Linked DNA regions of Homo sapiens: regions 1, 2, 4, 5 and 6 are each linked to region 3. The links are contacts of gene promoters, found by promoter capture Hi-C in blood cells and fetal thymus (Javierre and others, 2016). All regions are on one chromosome and are shown on one strand. The core of a region is centred on a gene start or on the middle of the fragment in contact, and the rest is flanking DNA. Distances in the headings are between cores, read along the strand shown. Region 1 overlaps MIR4713HG (MIR4713 host gene). Region 2 overlaps MIR4713HG (MIR4713 host gene). Region 3 holds the start of CYP19A1 (cytochrome P450 family 19 subfamily A member 1). Region 4 overlaps MIR4713HG (MIR4713 host gene). Region 5 overlaps MIR4713HG (MIR4713 host gene). Region 6 overlaps MIR4713HG (MIR4713 host gene).

Evidence for each region. The method cuts DNA at HindIII sites, captures the fragments that hold promoters and counts their contacts. A CHiCAGO score of 5 or more calls a contact.
Region 1: a fragment that was not itself captured here is called in contact with the fragment with the promoter of CYP19A1 in region 3 in 1 of 17 cell types (M1 macrophages); the score reaches 6.6 in M1 macrophages.
Region 2: a contact is called between a fragment that was not itself captured here and the fragment with the promoter of CYP19A1 in region 3, in 1 of 17 cell types (M1 macrophages). The highest score is 6.1, in M1 macrophages.
Region 4: a contact is called between a fragment that was not itself captured here and the fragment with the promoter of CYP19A1 in region 3, in 6 of 17 cell types (M1 macrophages, M0 macrophages, megakaryocytes and 3 more). The highest score is 6.8, in M1 macrophages.
Region 5: a contact is called between a fragment that was not itself captured here and the fragment with the promoter of CYP19A1 in region 3, in 1 of 17 cell types (M1 macrophages). The highest score is 5.5, in M1 macrophages.
Region 6: a contact is called between a fragment that was not itself captured here and the fragment with the promoter of CYP19A1 in region 3, in 1 of 17 cell types (M1 macrophages). The highest score is 7.7, in M1 macrophages.

Annotation. Positions count from the first base shown.
Region 1 is chr15:51,131,927-51,135,335 of GRCh38, reverse strand. All of the region lies in intron 1 of MIR4713HG (MIR4713 host gene), which reads right to left. Among named protein-coding and RNA genes, the nearest start is that of TNFAIP8L3, 39 kb to the right of the region's middle. The HindIII fragment of the contact is 4,498 bases long and covers 1-3,409 here.
Region 2 is chr15:51,202,533-51,205,814 of GRCh38, reverse strand. All of the region lies in intron 1 of MIR4713HG (MIR4713 host gene), which reads right to left. Among named protein-coding and RNA genes, the nearest start is that of MIR4713, 38 kb to the left of the region's middle. The HindIII fragment of the contact is 2,651 bases long and covers 15-2,665 here.
Region 3 is chr15:51,336,325-51,339,914 of GRCh38, reverse strand. CYP19A1 (cytochrome P450 family 19 subfamily A member 1) reads left to right here and starts at 1,319. Exons shown (of 10, transcript NM_000103.4): 1 at 1,319-1,420. RefSeq lists cis regulatory regions at 1,013-1,042, 1,107-1,124, an enhancer at 1,076-1,155 and promoters at 1,076-1,394, 817-1,394. The HindIII fragment of the contact is 2,086 bases long and covers 400-2,485 here.
Region 4 is chr15:51,165,509-51,169,200 of GRCh38, reverse strand. The region is part of intron 1 of MIR4713HG (MIR4713 host gene); the gene reads right to left. Among named protein-coding and RNA genes, the nearest start is that of TNFAIP8L3, 72 kb to the right of the region's middle. The HindIII fragment of the contact is 2,730 bases long and covers 1-2,716 here.
Region 5 is chr15:51,113,387-51,116,616 of GRCh38, reverse strand. The region is part of intron 1 of MIR4713HG (MIR4713 host gene); the gene reads right to left. Among named protein-coding and RNA genes, the nearest start is that of TNFAIP8L3, 20 kb to the right of the region's middle. The HindIII fragment of the contact is 639 bases long and covers 1,544-2,182 here.
Region 6 is chr15:51,096,130-51,099,798 of GRCh38, reverse strand. All of the region lies in intron 1 of MIR4713HG (MIR4713 host gene), which reads right to left. LOC124903491 (a long non-coding RNA gene) reads right to left here. Exons shown (of 2, transcript XR_007064631.1): 2 at 3,317-3,669. It also overlaps a transcript of TNFAIP8L3 not described here. Among named protein-coding and RNA genes, the nearest start is that of TNFAIP8L3, 3.1 kb to the right of the region's middle. The HindIII fragment of the contact is 154 bases long and covers 1,202-1,355 here.

The DNA.
Region 1 (3,409 bases), core at 218-2,717, 200 kb after region 3:
TTTAATGATTAGATGAGGTTATCCAGAGCCCAATGAATAATGACTATTTATTAGCTGCTTAGCTATTTGAGGCTTTCAACCCATGTTGTGGTAAATCATCAGAACGCCTGAAAGGAAGATTTTGTTATTTCTAATTTAGAGATAGAAAAATTGAGAGTTAGAAATTAAATGAACTGGCCAAGCTCCCATAGCTACTAAGAAGAATACTCAGAATTCAAGTGTATGTGAAACAGGGATTTTTGTGAGATTCATACACTGCACTCTAACACCTCCTTGACTCCTGAGTACTCTGATGAATCAAACCTCTGAATGTGTGAAAATGGGGTGAGACTCTGGGCCCACAGTGACCCCAATCAGGTTGCAGATATCCTGTGAGGGACAGCCAGCAGTCAGCCCCAATTGCTCACACCTGTTTTCTGCTCACTCTCATCATACTAAAAACAAAATTCCCACCAGGTCCTCAGTAACTCCCCCAAACTCACCTGGGTCCTCAGTCTCAACAAGACCCTCTTCTCTGTGTTAAAGAAAATCATATTCTAACACTTGCTAAAACAATAAGGAAGACTTTATTCAGGACTATTGCAATGGAGTATTGCAATAGGTGTGAGAGATCAGGTTCAACTTCAAATTCAAGGACAAGTGGGATTGTCAGCCAAGAACAGAGTGAGAGGGTTAGTGGATATGGAAAGTTGCTAAGAGAAGACATCAAGGATAGGAGATTCTTGTGAAATCAACTTAACAGGATTCTTGCTAAACACAAACTAATGTGATCAGATATCAAGCATGGGGGATTCTCCCTAAACTGACTTGGCAGGATTCTTACTAAAACTTGACTGGGCAAGGACAGACACAGACAAAGAAGTCCAAGGTCAAGGCCCAGTTGAGAAGAGGCTCATAGGAGCCTCACTAAAGTCTGGTCAAAGGGAGAGTTTTTGTCACTTGCCACAAAGGTCCAGATAACAGTTATGAAGCCAGACACTGGGACTTGGTGTTCTGAGTCCTCAAAATACTCTGGAAGGCAAGGACCAGGATCATCATCTTTACCTCACCAATGAGGAACCAACAAGTTAAGTACCTTGCCCAAAGTCAGACTTCCAGCCAATAACAGAGCTGGGATTTGAACCCAGAAAGTCTGGCGTCAAACCCATAGTTTTACCCACCACATGACACAGCTTCTCATCTTGTTGATTCCTTAGTGGATTTCATGCTTAATTAATCTTCCCACCACAAATTTGGGGATGAAGCGACCCAAAGAGATGGGGCTATCATAATCCTGCTTTACAACAGACCATCTTTCACATCCTCACTAGTTACTTTGGGGCCTCTAAAGATAAGCCATTGTAATGGACGCTTCATAATGTGATTTGACCAACAAAAACATTGGTACACAAAAGAGGAAACCGGAGCAGATTTCTGCATTCATTTCTATTTTTATTGTGTTCTGCTTTTGTTTAATAATAAGGGGGAGGAGACTGGGCTCGATCACTCATCTGCAGCAAGAATTTTTTATTACCAGGGGCTGGAAAACAAAATGGGTTTTAATTTATTCCAATTTCATTTCAATTTTGCCAGTGGACATCTGTGCTTGCGAGCTTGGAAACCATAATACACGACTAATACTTTCCAATAATTTTCTTTTGATAATTCCTCTGACAGTGTGAAGAAAAGTGCCTGAACATGGATTAAATATCACATGACAACATTTTCCCAAATCTACGTGGCAAACTGCTACTTTTCTTTTTCTACAAAGATAATAGGAGGAAAAAAGCAATTTTTCAGAGCAGAAAGCAGCAGACAAGGTTCAGAGAACTAGAGTTCTTCTCCTGGCTCTGCTACCCACTATCCAGATGTGTGGCCTGGGGCGGGGGAATTCACCTCTCTGGGTTTCTGTTTCCACATTGGGAAATGAGATGCTTAGACTGTGTGATTCCCAAAGTCCCTCCCAGCTCTGAAATTTCCAGAGTCTCTGGTACAACATGGTGCCAAATGACCTTCATAGTGTCGGCATCATAGCTTTGGACGTACTTTGAGTTAACCTGGTTCACTGACTAACATAGAGAAGGAAATCTACAATTAATTGGGCACATATGCGAGCTCTTAAAAAAAAAGCAACAGTTTACATCAGGAATCTCAAATGGCAGGTGGCATAAGTGAGGGCATCAGGCTGAGCAAGGAAACATTAGGGAGCAGTGGGAACACTGCTGAACTGAGAGCTCACAGTGTCTCTGAAGGTGGCAGCTGCTCCTTTGCGCCATCCAGTGGCTTCCATGTGGCAATGCAGGCCCAGTGCAACCAGAAACTGATTTTTCAAGCAAAAATAGAAACCTAGATTTTTATGTTCTGTTTCCCAATTATTTAAACACTGTTGGGGCCAAAGAAAACATACTTAGGAGCCCTAGTTAGCAAATCTTGAGTCACATGCACTGGGTGTCTAACCCATTCTCTTTTCTCCGGGACCATCCTGTACTTCCTCTGTCCGGCAGAGCATTCATTTCTGTTTACTCATCTGTCTCCCTGCTGGACGCAGAGCATTTTGAGGGTCATGGGTTCTATGCCTGTCTTGAGCAGCAGATTGTTGGTAGTCAATGAAATAAAGGAATTTTACTATTTACAATGAACGCGTCACTGTATTAGTCTGCTCAGGCTGCCATAAAAAAATGGCATGGCTTAAACAACAGAAATTTACTTCTCACAGTTCTGGAGGCTGGAAAGTCCCAGATCAAGGTCCAACAGGGCTTAGTTTCTGGTGAGGGCTCTCTTCCTGGTTTACAGAGGGCTTCCTTCTCACTACATCTTCACATGGCCTTTCCTTGGTGTGTGCACACAGAGAGAGAGAGCTCTCTGTTGTCTCTTCTTACAAGGACAGTAATCCTATTGGATCAGGGTCCAACCCTTATGACCTCATTTAACATTAATTACCTCCTCAGAGACTCCATCTCCAAATGCAACTACACTGTGACCCAGGGCTTCAATATATGAATTTGAGGAAGACATAAACATTCAGTTGATAACACTCACCTAATGCCAACTCACAAGAATTTACCAAAAGCATGGGGGAGGAAAAGGACAAGAAGCTGGGTCTAGAGGTCAAGAGAGATGGGAGACTAGGGCCTCTCAAGCCCAGGCTTGCCCCAGCCCCTCTCCTCAAGAGACAGCCCCCACTTCTCACCTTGATGATGCTTCTTGCTCCTCCAATTGCCCACTGAGCTGAGCAACGGCTTTCACCAGGACTATGACCCTGATATTTCCAACAAGCTGATAAACACACAAAGCTGACCGGGCCACCCCTAGCATCCACAGGCATCATCTCCCTTCCTTGCAACAGGCCCAGGCAGGTGAAGTAACGGGTCCAAGGTCACATGGGTAGTGAGTGGCAGAGCCCAGATTCAACTCCTGCCCCACCCCTCAA
Region 2 (3,282 bases), core at 91-2,590, 130 kb after region 3:
ATTGCACAAAAGCTTGATAGGCATCTGCAAGCTGGGCTTGTGGGAGGAGAGGAGGAGGGAAAGGAGATGGTACTTTCCAGATAGCCCTAAAATGATACTACCTACTTCACCCACACATGAAGCTGGTCCACTATAATGTGGTGTTTAGGTTGCAAGGGTTCCCAAATCAGAATGCCTATAGGAGCCAGGCAGGCAACATAAATTGGACAATCAGACCAGCTATAAGTAGAGCCTGTGGGAGACAAGGAACATGCCTCACCTAAAGGCATTCAGGTTCCGTGTTCCTGAATGCCAGTCCCAGCCAAACCAAACACAGTGCCAGCCAAACCAAACTCATCTGTGAGCTGGATTGGGCCCATGGTTTAAGGTCTTTAACATCATTCCTGTTCATATCCAACATTTTGCTTGCACCCTGTCTTCACCTAGTGAGAAAGGCAGAGAAGTCCCATTTCACTGAAGTGAAAACTAAAGCCCAGAGAGCCCAGGTGGTTTGTCCAAAGCCACTCACTAAGCGACAGATCCAGGACTCCTCTGGGGATCCCAGCTCCAAGTCCAGGGCTGTTTGATTTCACCTGGCTGACTTCCCTTCATAGCTGTGCACATTCTCATGATGATTTCAATGCCCTTTCACCAATTTGAATATCACTAGCTATCTCTGTAAATATGGATTACACCAGAGGAGCTCTACAGTCATTTCCAATGCCTTCATTATGTTAAGTTACTATTTTGCTTCATAAACATAATAGCATCTTTTCCACTTTGTATCTAAGCCCTAATAGCAAATTGAGTGTATACGGCACTCTCAGGTCAAGCATGCAATTTGGCCATTGAAAGGATGATTTGGGCATCCAGTGTGCACCAACTGGCTGACTGCAAGCCCCCAAACACTAGTATGCCTGCATGTATCCCTAACTTGCTGCTGCAGGGGGATGGAGATGTTGATGGAACACATTTCATTCACAAATAATTACTTTATTCCTATTGCAACTTTTGAGCAAGCCAACGGGTTTGCTGAAGCAAATAATTTTTTTCTAAGTGGCATTGGTTTTATACTCAAACCAACTGAAGCACTAAGAGCTCAATAATACCTCCCTTCCCTGCTGAAATGACCACTTTCTCTGGGCACCAATGCCTCTGGCATGCTTACACCTTCTCATAATGCAGCAGCTGCTTTTACTACTCATGTGGCTCCAAAAACAACCAAAAAACAGGCAAGGAGAAATGAACTCTTGCTTCAGAGAAATACCTGCCCATGATGATGCAGGAATGGTTGACACATCTTTGCGTGTGATCCTGGGGCAAGTGTGAAGGGGAAAGAATTATTATAAATCAGTCAGACCATAGACCATGTTATCTTATTTAAACCTCACAACAATTATGCAAAGTATGGATTATTTCCCATTTTGCAGCTGATAAAACTGATTCCCAGAGTAACTTGCCTACACTCACTCAGCTAGGAATTTTAACTTCTTGGCTTATTCCAAAGTCTATGATAATCTTTCCTGTATGCTACACTAAAAGTGTGCTTTGGTCCTTTTGGAAATCAAATATAGTATAACAATAAATGTGTGTAGGGTTTAATTGGTCAACAATTTAGGTATTAATATTGGAGGAATTGAGGTATTGAGGAAACTAGGGAATTCTGGCTCCTATCATAACTCACACCAGCCACTCCACCATGGGAATAAGTCCAAGAACAGTGACTTGAGACTTTGCCCTGTCTTTCCAACCAACAGCTAGGGGTGAGTCAAACCAATTCTATTGATTCAGCTATATTAAGCAACCAAAGTAAAATGATCCATATGTGTTCTCTAGTCATCCACGTTTTACTCATCTCCATGTCTGGCACACAGCATGCTCTCAGTACATTTCTGTTGAATGAGAGAGTGAATCTTTAAACCAGTAAGAGAAGTTAGTACTATTAAATTCCTAAGAATAGGCACCACATGTACACATTCTAAAATGCGGCCTTTGCAGTCTACTAAGTGCCACTGAAAGACAGTGAATGATCAATCTACACGCTTAAGCAAGAAAAACATGGCCAGGTGGGGGAAGCCAGATATATCTTGGTCAGGGGTACTAGCAGTTGGGGGTAGATATTCCTGCTCATTGCGAAATTGGAGGAGATGAACTTTAGGACTCCTGCAACTGAAGATTCCACAAGTCCATGGGTTTGTGCCCTTCTCTACAACCAACTGGTGAGGATTTACACATTTTCTAAGTTAAGCCAAAAAGCTGGCTTTCGGGAACACATAGTCTCAAAGGAGACATCTTTCAGAAGAATCTCTCTTAGCTTAATAATCAGCTGATACTCATAAGGATCACAAATATATGGTATTTTGTGTTTAATAATCACATTTGATGCCCATTGGTTGCCAGGATAAGTAACACTATGCCTATTTACAAGACTAACTCATTTCCAAATGAATCAAAAAAGCACATTTCATCCTATTTTAATGCAATTGTTCCTGGTTCTCCTTCTTGAGTCTCATTCTAACCTCTCTCAACAGCCTGTATTTCTACTTCTCGCAGGTCTTTTGCGGCTCCTTGCATAATGAATCCTCTTAGTAGTTCTTTCCTTCTGCAGTTCCCCTCAGCCTGTCTCAGGACCAGCTCTGAGGACTGTGCTCTGGGGAAACCCCAGCCTGTCTCCCAGCCCCAAGCTTGCCATCTTGCCCCTGTTGTTGAATGCCACCCCAGCAAACCTGGGGTGTGTTTGCTTTTTGTCCTTCTCTTTCTTCTACCTCTGCGGATCCATCTTGCATATTTCCCTCATTCCCTCCTGAGCCTCCTGTTATCCACTTCCCCTTTCTCTTACCATCTGCACTCACCATCCTGAATTGCTCAGGCTGAGGTCACCCTTTTATTCTGAGCTGGTGAAGCGGAGGCAGCCACCCTCCTTTTATCACGACAAAGTCTTGTGTGGATGAGATATAGTCCTTCCTCCTTATATTTGTTTCCTAAAACTGCTGCAACAAATTACCACAAACTGGGTGGCTTCAAACAGCAGAAATGTATTCTCTTATAATTCTGAAAGCCAGAAGCCTGAAATCAAGGTGTCGGCATGGCCACGCTCCCTTGGAGAGGAATTTGGTGGGAGAATCCTTCCTTGCCTCTTTGAGCTTCTGGTGGCTGTAGGCCATCTTTGGCTTCCTTGGCTTGTGGCTGCATCACTCTAATCTCTGCCTCTGTGGTCACATTGCCTCCTCCTCTTCTGTCTGTATCTTTCCCTCTTCTGTCTCAAATTTCCCTCCACCTTCTCTTCTAAGGACACAGCATTTG
Region 3 (3,590 bases), core at 70-2,569:
CAATTAAACTTCTTTTCTTGTAAGTTACCCAGTCTCGGGCTTTTCTTTATAGCAAGGCAAGAATGGACTAATACACATACCAATTCTTGCAGGTAGGATTTTTTGGCACAGGAGAGAAAGCTGAGTAGTATCAGACTTCTTGCCCCCTACTCTCCAGGGTGAGCCAGGGTAGAGCCTCTGAGAATGCACAAGGAAACTGAAGTGACATCTCAATCAGAAATTCTGAGTCAAAGTTTAGATTCCTGAGTTTTAATAGGAACATTGACCAACTTCAGTATTCTTAGAAGAGCATACAGGATAAGAAGAAATTAGGAAAGCATGAAGGTCCAAGTGTTTCATAAAGTACCCCCACTGTGGGGATATGATGACTGGGAGGGGATGGCAGTGATGTAAAAAGCTTTGTCCATTTCCTCCCAACTCAAACGTTCTGTGACCTACTTGAAGAACTGTCATGTATCCTTATCTCTTTTCATCCAGGTATCAGGTTTAGGGCCAATGGGGAGGAGCCACTGAGAGGGAGGGTTGACACTCAGCATCATTCAGATCTTCATTTAATTCAGTAAACACTTAACTGAGCACTTCCTGTGCCTGGTATGATAATGGGCATTGGAGATACGGAAGTAAAAAAGACAGGCAGATTACCCTGTGAGCAGCTGGAACACCGTGGAGCCTTCTGGGCTTCTCTTTATCCTAACATTCATTGCAGTTACTGTTGACTGATCATCTCTCAGCAATACCCACCATTAACCATGGAATAGAAGCCTCCTGAGGCTAGGGGCCATGTCACCCCCAACACATAGCACAGTTCCTGATTTGGAATTCACTATTACCCGTTGAATAAATGAGTGAATGAACGAATGAATAAATGAAAAGCTGTATAGTGAAGGCACTTCTATGTAGAACAATGTGGTGTGTGGTGGGGGGTGTGATCTTATGATTACATGTATATAGATTTTTGTCCATGGTTCTTGTCCATAACTCCCATGACACTTGCTGAGGTCTTTTGCTATAATGTAGAGGTGCTTTAGGCCTCAGGAAACAGAATATTTCTCTGGCCTTCTTTGCCCTCCTTTCATCCACCCAAGGCGGGACTCTATAATCTGATTGTGGGTCATAAGACCCTCATTCCAGAGGAGGTCATGCCCCATACCCTGGAGGAAGGAATGCTGCACAAAGAGAGGAAGAAGAATCTGGACAGACAGACCTTGCTGAGATTAGATCATACCCTTTTTGTCCAATCACATTTTGTTCAATCACATGCTTCAGTCATGGACAACAAATGAAATCTCCATAAAAGGCCCAAAGGACAGGGTTCAGGGAGTTTCTGGAGGGCTGAACACGTGGAGGCAAACAGGAAGGTGAAGAAGAACTTATCCTATCAGGACGGAAGGTCCTGTGCTCGGGATCTTCCAGACGTCGCGTATGTATCTCTTAATCTGACTGAGCCCTCAACCTGTGGGATCAGACACTCTTTCCAGGTAGATAGTGTTGGAACTGAGTTGGAGGACACCCAGCTGGTGCCCGCTGCTTGGTGTGTGGGGGAAAATCCCCTACATTTGGTCGCAGAAGTCTTCTGTGTTGATGACTGTTGTCGTGGTGTGAGAGCAGAGGGAAAACACTGCTTGAGTGTTTTTCTGAAATAGGAGGGCCTAAGAACTATACTGTTCTATGCCACAGAACTGGCCCCCTACTTTCCTTGAAAGGCTGGCTATCCAATGGTGAGGAGAGGAAGTGGTAGCCTGAACCAGCCTCCCCATTTCCCCACCTCCCACCCCAGTTCAGAGCCCAGATCCAGTAGACAGAGCAGAGATGAGGCCTGCTTGGAGCCAGGCAGGCTCTATTAGACAACTTCAGGCCAAGAAGCTGCCCCTCTTGGGATGCAGGACTCAAAAGGCTTGTAGCATGGCCACCCCGTGGGCTGGGTTGGTGGAAAGCCTGGGATATTGCTCTGGGGCAAGAGGGGCAGAAGGAAGCGCAAATGAAAAGCCAGACTCCTTTCCTACCAGACTCCACTGTCAGATCCCTCTCCAACTCTTCCTGTGTGGGATGATGGCATTTTTCACAGAAGAAGGGGGACATGTTGATATGGCCTACAAGGTAGACATCTTCACTCATCTCTCACCCTAAAGTGGCTGTGCCCAAGCAGCTGCCATGCTCTGCCCTCTTTCCTCTTCTCCTCTATCTTCTCTCTCCAACCCTCTTTCCACCGCAGTGCCACACAGTGACCTATCTCCATCACTGGCCTATTTCAGTGTTGCCCACTTTAAGGCCTAACTCCGAGTACCCTTCCTCATCTAGCCTTGACTTCCTAGGCCAGTCCCAAGCACTGTGAGCTCTACAAGCTGCAGGGGCTCTGTGGTTATGCACCTGGGCTTTGGAATCAGACCTGACCTTGAAACTGTTTTTTAACTGCATGACTTTAGATATGCTACTCAAGTTCTTTAAAGAGACTGTAATTGTATCTATTTCATAGGGTTGTGAAGCTTTAATAAGAAAATACTTGTAAAGCACTTGTATAATAAATGTTCAACACGGGTTGGTATTGTTGGATATGGGCCATATGAACTGGCTGAGACTTACACTGTGTGTGCCTTGTGCTGTTAGTTGACACTTTAGTTCTTCTGTGCCTTGTGCTGTTAATCGACATCTTAGTTCTTCCACATCCTATTTCTTCAGTTGGGTTACAATATTCTTAAGGCAGGGACCTATCTTAACTGTCCTCTCACAGCAGGGACTTGTGCCAAGTAGGAATATTTGATTAATGGATTCATTAGCTAATCACACTTTGTAGATGCTTTTTGAGGAACAGAACTTTTGAATGCACGATAAACTTGGGTTCTCGTCTGAATACCATGGCTTTGAGGTTGGTTATATGGAGCCTTTCAGTGTGAATCCCTAAGCCTCTTGAGATTTCTTGAGAGGCAGATATGCCTGCATAGCCTGCCCTGCCTGATACTTCACAGAATGGGCTGCTACTTTTTACTTATTATTAAAAAAAAAAAAAAGCTATCAATCTGGCCTGTTTTGTTGACACAGGAGGCTCAGGATATAATGCGGACACAGGGAGATATCTCAATTCCCTTTTTTTGGAGACCAAAGCAGCCAAGAACATTGTGTGCTATCTTTACAATGAGAAGTAGTTTTTCCATTAAAAGGCAGATGCTTCATTTCCAAAAGTTAAATAGAATGGTCCTTAAAAATGATTCCAGCTGGTTAACTTTAGGGCTCTGGAGAATAAAATCAAATTCAAGAATATACCCCAACTTTAGTTCCACAGCATTTCTTCCTGATTGTGAAGTAAATAATTTTCCTGGCCTGGCACTTGGGTATTCTTGTCTTCAGTGATGAGATTGACAGCTACACTGTGACTTTTGATGGTTTTACTGCCCCACCACCCTTCCACCACACTGGTGATTAGGGAGAGAGCCACCCTAAAAGTTGTCACCACATGCATCTTCCACTCAGCCTCTTATGGTTTTAACTCCCCATTCCTACTGTTAAACCCCAAGAAACTTCACACCATCCAACCAAAGTCAGCAATTCTCCCTTTTTTCTTTCTTTTATTCTTTCATGTATTCATTTACTCAGCA
Region 4 (3,692 bases), core at 102-2,601, 170 kb after region 3:
TTAAGAACCATAGCACTACCCCCACTCCCTGAAGCAAATCCAACTGAAGAGAGAGAACAGAGTAGAACCAAACCCACGCCTTGGAGATGCCCATGCTTAAAAAACTTCACTTGGACCAATGCTCAAAGTCACTGGTCATCAAAGAAATAAAAATTAAATCTACTAGAATGGCTAAAAATAAAAGGACTGAAAACACCAAATGTTGGTAAGGATGTGAAACAACCAGAATGTTCATCCATTGCTGGTGGGAGTGTAAAATGGTAAAACAATTTTGGAAAGATTTGTTTCTTCTACAGTTAAACATGGACCTACCCAATGACTCAGCACTTAAATTCTAAGTTTTTACCCAAGAGAAATGAGAATGTATATCCACAAAAAGACTTGTACAGGAATATTTATAGCAGCTTTATTTATAACAGTCAAACTGGAGACAACTCAAATCCAGGGAAAAGGATAAACAAACTGTGGTACATTTATAATATGGAATACTACTTAGCAACAAACGGGAAAAATCTGCTTCTATGTAATAGATGAGTCTCATAGACATTATGCTGAGCAAAAGAAGCCAATTATGAAAAAGTGCATATTATATGAGTCTATTTATATGAAGTTCTACACAAGACAAAACTATCTATAGTGAAACAAAACCAGAAAAGTGGTTGGCTCTGGGGGGGATAGACTGAGAAAGAAACTTTCTGGATGGTAGAAATGTTTTATGCCTTAACAGGAGTGAGCATATGTTCCTTAGAAGTTCTAGTGTTCTATGCCACTGTAGGATGACTCTAACAATAACATATTATTAGTTTCAAAGAGCTAGAAGGAGGATATTGAATAGTCCCAACACAAAGAAATGTAAATGTTTGAGATGATGGATACACTGATACCCTGATTTGGTCACTATACATTACATGTATCAAAACATTCCTATGTACCCTAGAAATAAATGAAATTATTATTTGTCAACTTAAAAATTTTTTAACATACCAGATTATATATTTAAGATTTGTGTATTTTACTATATATAAATTTTGTACTCTACTAGTAGGCTTGCTTTTCTCAGCAGTGTGGGTTAGCAATTCTGAAATTAATTTCTGTGTATCTTATGCTTGAGCAAATGAATAAATACATTGAGGAAAATAGGAGCCATGTTTCTTACTGTCAGAAAAAAGAGTTACAAATATGTAAAAAGGGGAAAATTAGAGTGTTCTCTGAGTTTATGGATTGGAATTAGAGGTACCAGTATGAACTTGTGTTTTTTGATACATAGATGAATAGATAAATATATTTCCTAGCTCTGTCCACCAAAAGTGTCTGGGAGCAATAACACACCTGCAGCAGTGAGTACATCTAGCACTTAGATCTTGGTTTCTAAATACCATTCTCCACTAAAACGAACGAAGAGTCCTTGAAGAAAAGTCTTGGATTCCAGGACTGGGGTGTGGAAACACAAGATGAGTTTAGGATATCTTATTTCACAAGAACCTAAGAAGATGCTCAGTGAGAAATGGGGAACATTCAATAGGACCCAGGATTAGCTTGAAGGAACTTCCATGGGCCACTGAAGGGACTCTTCTACATCTGGGACAATTTGAGCATCAATTATAATAATGTATTCTATTTCACTGAATAAAATAGGAATCCCTGAGAGCACACTGATAGAAAAATGCCAACTAGGCGGGGTGCCATGGCTCACACCTGTAATCCCAGCAGTTTGGGAGGCTGAGGCACACGGATCCCTTGAGGTCAGGAGTTCAAGACCACCCTGGCCAACATGGTGAAACCCTGTCCCCATTAAAAATACAAAAAAATTAGCCATGCGTGGTGGCGCATGTCTGTAATCCCAGCTAACCGGGTAGCTGAGGCAGGAGAGTCGCTTGAATCTGGGAGGCAGAGGTTACAGTGAGCTGAGATTGCACCACTGCACTCCAGCCTGGGCGACAGTGAGAATGAGACTCTGTCTAAAAAAAAAAAAAAAAACAAAAAAAGCCAACTAATAAATATAGAAGGGATGATAGAATTAGAAAATCATCAGTGGTTGCCAAAACTAGTTTGATAAGGGTGAAAGGTTGATGAGAAACAGAATATTTACAGTCTCAATGCATCTCCCCTCAAATTACTTATTACTTACAAAAGAGAAAATGGTAACATGGTGGAGAAATTTGGCAGACACTCCCTGTTCCATTTGCTTTGTCTACATAACAAATTACCCCCAAACTCAGCACCGTTAAACAGCCATTTATTATGCTTGTGGATTCTAGAGATCAGGAATTTGTATAGAGAACATCAAGGATGGCTTGTCTCCGCTCCATGATGTCAGGGGCCTTAGTTGAAAAACTCAAAGGCTAAACGCTGGAATCATCTGAAGACTCCTTTACCCACATGACAGCACTGGGTGTTGTGTGTGGCCGAGAACCCCAGTCCTTCCCCAGGTGGCTGGTTTGGGCTTCCTGACAGGATGGTGGCTACCTGGATTCACCACTGTGCAGTTAGTATTTTTCACTTTGTAATTGATAAATAGCTTGTAGGGAGATGGTTTGAGATTAGATGAATATCCTATCTCTTGATCATGCTTTTGGCCACTACTTTCAGCATTGCTGCAAACTCTTTTTTAAAAGGCCAATTTATTTCATAGACATGTACATTTTTTTCAAAAAGTCCAAACTCTAAACAGTGTAATTCTTGAAAGCACAGAATCCTTTAGTTTGGCTCACAAGCTTGATCTTTGAAAAAGCCCTCTGTTTTTCCAACTTGCTGGTCTTTGCTAATCAGATAGGGGTTTAAAAAAAGATATTTCATTATACTTTTAAGGGTCTATTATTATAGACTGAGCTCGAGCATCTTTTCATGTTTGAATCATTTGTATTTCATTTTCTGATAACTGTTCTTATCATTTGTCTATTTCATACTTACTTACAGAAGTTTTTAAAATATATTAAAGAAAGTAATTATAGAATAGAGAAATATATTCAGGAAAATAGCCCTTTATCAGTTACACAAGTTGCAAGCATCCTTGTCAATTTTGTGTTTGCCTTTTATCTTTTCATTTTGATTTAGTGTTACTTTTAACACAAAATTTTTTGTTGTTTCTGTTTTGTCGAATTTACTAATTTGTGTGTGGGCGTGGTTTCTTAGAAGAGCCTTCCCCATTCTGATATTATTAGTTAAATCTCCCATTTTTATATACTACTTGTATGATTTCCTTTTCATGTTTATATATTTAATCTACCTAAAATTTATTTTGGTGTAAGACCTGAGATCCAGCTTTTTTTTAATAAGATGATCCACTTGTCTCAATATCATTAAATGAATAGTCCGCATTTTCCCTAAGGGTGTAGTTTATATCGTATACTAAATTCCCATATGTATTTGGTTTGACTTTCTAGTCTGTATTATTGATTTAATCATGCATTTGTACCACATTGTTCTAATTACTATAGATTTATAATATGTTTCAATATCTGGTAGGATGTTTCCCTCCTCGTTACTCTTTTTTTTCTCACAATTTTTCTGTCCAAGAATATGCTTGCTTGTTTGTCCATGTGAACTTTAGATTCAGTTGACATGCCTAAAAACTTCTGGACTAATTTAAGGAGACTTGACATCTTCATGATATTGAATCTTCCCAAGTATGAACGTTCAAACAGTAGACCTTTCCATTGCTTAAGGCTTCTTTTGTGTCTCCTTTCTTTGCG
Region 5 (3,230 bases), core at 614-3,113, 220 kb after region 3:
CTTCCTGAAACACAGGTCTGACCATGTCATTCCTCTGCTCAAAACCAACATGCAGATTTCCCACAGGGTGCTTGTCCCATGGAGATGTTAATAGCCGATAGGACAGCATTTTTAAATAGCAGGGGAAGTCAATACCCACAGAAGTTTAACTTTTTTTTTTTTGAGATGGTGTCTCACTCTGTTGCCCAGGCTGGAGGGAGCGGTGGCGCGATCTCGGTTTACCGCAACCTCCACCTCCCAGGTTCAAGCGATTGTCCTATCTCAACCTCCCGAGTAGCTGGGATTACAGGTGCACGCCACCATGTCCAGCTAATTTTTGTATTCTTAGTAGAGACAGGGTCTCACAATGTTGGGCAAATTAGTCTTGAACTCCTGACCTCAAATTATCCACCCGCCTCGACCTCCCAAAGTGCTGAGATTACAGGTGTGAGCCACTGCATTTGGCCCAGAAGTTTAACTTTTTAATAAACACTGGGTTAAACAAAGCCCAACAGGTTTCTTTACTGCAGAACTTATCAGAGTCCTTCATATGCTAATGGCACTTTGAATTTCCAAGAAAGAGTTCATTAGCGTATTATTTCTCAAATTTATTTGACTTCAGAATTCTTTCAATTTGCACAGAACATTCATGCTTTAGGAAAGATCCTAAAGGAGACAGGGCCACAAGATGGAAAGAGCCTGGACTCCTGACTCACTTTTTGGGACTGAGCCTCCCAGAGAGCAGCCCTATGAGAAACACCTGTGATGGACTAGTGGGTGGGTGAAAAATAAACTTTTATTGTGTTCAGCCGCTTAAACATCAGGGTTGTTTGTTATAGCAGTTAGCCTATGCTGTCCAATATGGAATGCATGCAGGTATTTAAGTTATTTGTCAAAGAATAGATTATCTTTTTTGGCCTACAGAGTTTTTGTCACAAACAATAATAGGTCACAAGACTTGTAGCCTTACTAAGGTGGTATGATAAGTCTTTGCAAACAGTATCTCATTTAATTCTCTTGACCACCCAGTAGGATAAGTACAATTATCGGCCCATCTCACAGATGAAGAAGCTAAAGCTCACAAAGATTGAGAATTTGAGATAGTAAGCCCAGGATATGCATGCAGGTCATTTGACTTTGGGTCCTTGATCTTAATCACATCAAGGTCCTACCTCCTAGGCCCAAGTTATGAGGTCAGAAAAGCTGGGTTCCAGGTGCGATTTGGTTAGTTACCTAGACTAACTGAACATCTACACAACTTACTTCCATTCTTTTTATTTAGATCAGTGGCTCCCAATCAGGGTTGATTTTGCTTCCCCAGGAGACATTTGGCAATATATGGAGACATTTTGGGTTGTCACAAGTGGGGAGGTACTACTGGTATCTAGTTGGTAGAGGCCAAACATGCTGCCACAGCATCATACAATGCAAAGGGCAGCTCCCAACAACAAAGAACCACCTGCCCCAAAATGCCATAGTGCCAATGTGGAGAAATTTTATATGTTTTATTGACAGAGCCCAAATGTCCAGAATAAATCCACACTCTTGCTTGGAATAAGAAGCTTACTTTAAAACCCTGCCTTAGGCTTTAATTCCTAAAAGGGCAAGAAAGGCCATAACCAACAAGTAGCTTTTGGCGCTCAGAGATGTGAGCCTTGGCCATTTTTGGAGGGAATCCAGCCCAAAGAAGACTTTGCCGCATATAAAGAATTCGGTTTGGCAGGACCTCAGGAACAATACATGGTGACAGAATAGAAATTCCTCTTGAAAGAATGCCAAACCTTTTTGGTTTCCTAGTAACATAATTTTCCTGAGATTTCTCTCACATTTAAATTTGCAGCATCCCTACACCTATTTTAAATCAAGGCAACAAAAGAAGATTTTTATGAAAAGATGACATAATTGAATCATCTTCTTGGAGAGAGAAGGAAACCTAAGGGCCATCTGGTCTTTTCCCTTGCCCACCTCTTCTGGCACATGGCACCCCTGTTTCAACATCATATGATGCAGGGCAGGGATGTCACCATCACAAGGATCCAGTTTCATTTCCAGAACGGTCTGTTCAAAACTTCTTTCAGGGCCAGAAACCTGCTTCTCTGACCTCTGTGTTTCCTGCCCCTCATTCAATGCACTCAGGGAGGGTAGTGGGAGAAGGAATGAGGAGATGGGTACGGGGGTGGGGAAGTGTTCTTCCATGAAAGCTTACTGGGTCCCAGGCTTTGTGCACCTCATTTCTAATCCTCCAGCATCTCTCATAGCAACCTCAGGTAGTGATCATGCACAGCCTCCCTGCCCCTGCATGTTGTCTCTTTTCCAGATGAAACATCGTGAGATCTGTTTTCACATGGAAACATCCCTTTGGCACCCTGTTCATTCATTCATTCACTCATTTATTCAGCACATAATTACTGGGCACCTATGATCTGCCAGGCTTGTGTCAGAGACTTGGGATAGAACTTTGGGCAAAATGGCTTGTCTGGAAAGCAGGGCTGGCAATACAGTCAGCGAGGGAAGCCCTCGACTTAGGGACTATTATTATTATTAACTTCAGCAAAAATTTTCCATGCCAGCACCCTATGCGGTAGCCTAGGGCATCAGGAATATATCCCAGAGGGAGTGATGTCTAGCTGGGCGGGTAAGCAGAGATCCAAAGGGTTTCACCAGGTAGCAGGGCATGTAGAGTGTTACAGGCAGAGGTAACAGTTTGTGCAAACACCACAGGGGCACCCATGGCACTGAAAACAGGTTGGCGTGGCTGATCTGAGGGAGGCTGGACTGATGCTGGAGAGGTGGGCCCAGACTGGTGGGCCCTGCAGGTCGTGTAATGGATTTGGGTTTTTAGCTGAAGGGCCACAAGGACCACTGAAGCTGAGAAACAGCAGGATTGGATTCAACTTGCAGAAAGCCAGTCCTGGGGGCTGTGTGGAGAATGGGTCAGAAGAAGCAGGAAGGCAGGGACTCTGTGTGGGAGGCTGTGTAGTTGCCCTGCCTCCCTCAGGGGTATGGTGGTGGCAGGGACTGAGAGAAGGAACAGTGATGGCAGAGAGGTTAGGGGTCTTTAACCACTTCCCATAATCTCGATCAAAGCACCTCCGAAAGTCACCTCAATAAACAGAAAGTTAAATTCAAAGCAGTGTTTAGCTATGCTCCTACGGCTAGGAAATGAGCCCCCAGCCCTGTAACCCTCCCAGCAGCAGATATTCTTTGAGCACTCCCATGTTGAAATTCGGTATCCAGCTTGAAGAAATAGA
Region 6 (3,669 bases), core at 29-2,528, 240 kb after region 3:
CTCCTGTGGGAATAATACTGACCTTTTCTATGCCACAAAGCTGTGTAAGGATCCAGGAATATGGGAAGGCACTGGGCAGAGCTCAACAGTCACTTAGGGTACCCACATACAAGCTGTGTAGATGCTTGTAAGAACAGCTCTCATGCAGCAGTGGAGTCACATCCCATAGCCAAAATGAATGCCACAAGTGAGATCACACACCATGTGTGATCAGGGAGGCTCTCAGTGAACCTAAGATCCTGGTGCTGCTATTTAAAGGGCTTATAAATAACCCCATAGGGTTGGGCTAGGGCACAACAGAGGTTGGGCCCATAGAGTTTTCTTCTCTCTCTCTCTTTCTCTTCTCCCTTTCTCCTTCTCAATTTCCCTCTCCCTTTGTATCAGTGCTTTTGAGTCACTATAATTGCATTAACCACCAAGAAAGCTATCCTGCTGGCAGCTCAGGAAGCAGAAGCTAAGAACCCAGGAGAACAGCTGGATGCCAAAGTTGCCAGCCTCATCCACCCTCTGCCTCCTACAAGGGGTCTGGACTTGGATGGGGCTGTGCAGAGGACACACTGCCCACAAAGAAAGTGTGGAAGGAAACTTTGCATTCTTCTCCTAAACCTCCTCTGGGCTCAACTGATGCTGGACAAATGCAAGAATGAACTCAAATAACCCACCTGCTGCCTAGTGGAGATTATACCCATGAAAATTCTTGATAACCTTAAAGTCTTGGGATATATACAGCAATTATTTTGTTAGTTGCAATTTTCTTTCTTGTTTCTCTCTCCCAAGGAAAACGAAGGAGGCTGAAAGTTCACAGGCATTGATTAATGATGTGTGCAAAGATTTAGACACGAGGATATTGATTGATGCTATTATAGCAGAAAATTGGAAACAACCTAACTGCTCAACAATAGAGGATTGTTTAAATACATATGGTATACTCATCCAGTAGAATATTGTACAGCTATTAAAAATCATGTTATCAAAGAGTAGATGAAATGATGTTCACAACATATTGTTAAAAGGAAAAAGCAATTTACAAAAGCAGAATACTGTACACACACAGAAGGAAACTTCTCAAAAGATATGTTAACCGTGACTGCAATTAGTAAAATTACGAATTAATTTATATTCTTTTTTGTTTATATGTATTTTCCAATTTTTCTAGTAATCTGCATTACTTTTTAAATAAGAGGGGAGACAAATAAAAGCTTATTTTTACTGGCAAGAAAGAAATAGGAAAGCTCCCTTTCTCAAGGCTGTCTTCTAGCACCATGTTCTGTTAGATGGATATCAAGCTAGCTTGGACCCTGCTCTCCAGCTTACCTACAGTCCCATGGAGGCCCCCTCAGCTCTGGGTAGAAGCTTCCTTGGGACCAAAGTCTACCTTGAGACAAATGATTAAAAATAGGGCCAACCTTTCACCTCTAAGGACCAAAGGCCACTTCAGCCTACAGAAAACAGCGGTTCTAGAGCTGGTGGGTTTTCAAAGCAGAGCAGCAGTCCTAGCGTGTGAAAAGTATCTCCTTCCCTCCTCCCACTGCTGAAGGTTTGCAGACAGCTCCCTTTCCATCCCACAAGAGGAGACAGGCAGATGAGTCATAGCACTGGCTCAGATTAAAGGAGTATTATTGTGTTAGCAGAAATGGATCTATTTTATTATCTGTTTCTTGACACCTTACAAATAGATACGCTTTACCCACCAGACAGGCAATTTCCTTAAAAAGCCAACAATTTTGTTCACTCTAGTTAAGAAATGACCAATGAGTGGTAGAAACTCGTATATCTGAAGAGCTGCCAGGCTGAAAAGATGTAGTGGAAACACTGAGGAAGGTGGCTTATAACCCTCAGACTCTAGATTCAAGTCTGCAAAGTGATGCCATTTTTCTAAAAATATACAGAGGAACTACAGAAACCCTTTCCCTTTTTCTCTTTCTTAAGAGTTTTTCCCCCCCCACAAGAAATATATCAGAACTGGTTTGTAAAAGGAGATTCACCACCTCAGATTTCACTGTTTTAGTGGGGTTGATGGTCATAGGATACTATTTTAAGGACTTCCTTCTCTTACACAGATTTTTCCATACTGGGAGGAGAGATAAGGTATGTTCCACTAATGTTCCTCATTAAACTCACACGCATGCCAGTAGTCATTTCCCTTTGTCTTGCTGTCCCATGACAACAGATTGTACATCATAGGAAATTGGAATCGAGACCTTGTTTAGTTTGGATCTCTCTTCCCCATTGTCTAATTCCACATTCAATTCAATTTTTCATTCTATGTCTGCCTCGTTTAGCAGAAATATACTATGAATGAATATAGGAGCAGGTAAATGAATAGGCATTATCTAAGAACTTCACTCAAAGACTTTTCAGGATACCTTGACCAGTTCTTTCTCTCCCCCCCATGCCCAAAGCATTTATCTCTGGGTCAAAATGTGCTAGATACTTAATGAAGACCTGACGACTGATGAGCATACATGTGTTGTAAATGTGTGTTCTCAGTACATTGTTTACTGTTGATCAAATTCCAGTAGCTTCTCTGTTTCCTTTTTGCTGTTATTCATACATGTCTCTGTGGTCTGTCTCCCTCACACTGCAACCCAGGCTACCTGTCCATTAAAACAAAAGCAAAACCAAAAAAGCTTCCATGAAGTGCAAGGAAAGGAGGTCTAAGGAAACAGGGAAAGTTTCACATTTCCTGTTATTGAATCTAGGCACAACCTTTAGAGGAAGCTGAATGCCTTTTGAATCCCATATGCTCTGTTCTGTGAAGCTATCATTGTTGTTTTACCTTATAACTGAAAAGCTATTATGGCAAACTTTTTAAATGATCCCAGCTATTTGTTTTTCGAGTATCATCTTGTATCCAAATTTTGCCATTACTTTTTTCTTTCTTTCTTTTTTTTTTTTTTTTTTTTTGAGACAGCGTGTTGCTCTTGTTGCCCAGGCTGGAGTGCAATGGCACGATCTCGGCTCACTGCAACTTCCGCCTCCTGGGTTCAAGCGATTCTCCTGCCTCAGCCTCCCGAGTAGCAGTGATTACAGGCATGCACCACCACACCTGGCTAATTTTGTGTTTTTAGTCGAGACAGAGTTTCTCCATGTTGGTCAGGCTGGTCTCAAACTCCCGACCTCAGGTGATCCACCCGCCTCAGTTTCCCAAAGTGCTGGGATTACAGGCGTGAGCCACCGTGCCCGGCCCCCACTTTTTTCTTTTCATTAAAAAATGCAACTCTAAAATATTTTGTTTTTCTAAATGGGATCCATTCAATCTAAAAATTAGTGTTCTTTCCAGTTATCAAACATTCACTGTGTGCCAGGCATTGGGTAATAGCTTTCATACTCATTATTTCATTTATTTACAAACACCCTATGAAGGAGACACCAACACTTGAGGAAACCGAGAGAGGTTTAGCCATTTGCCCAAGATAACACATCCACTGTGGGGCTCTTTTGACCATTTCATCAATATCCATCCAACTTGTATCACTAGAGTCCATGAGCTTGGCCATCCTTTGTTTTCTGAAAACACAAAGTAGAGTGGTATTTGCACTCTGTTAAGCCCACACTTCACTAAAGACGGCAGCCTTCAGGTAGACCAGAAGCCAAAACTCACTTATGACACTGTACCATAGCAGTCAGGAGCAGATCTGGACATCAGACCTGATTTCAAGTCCCAGT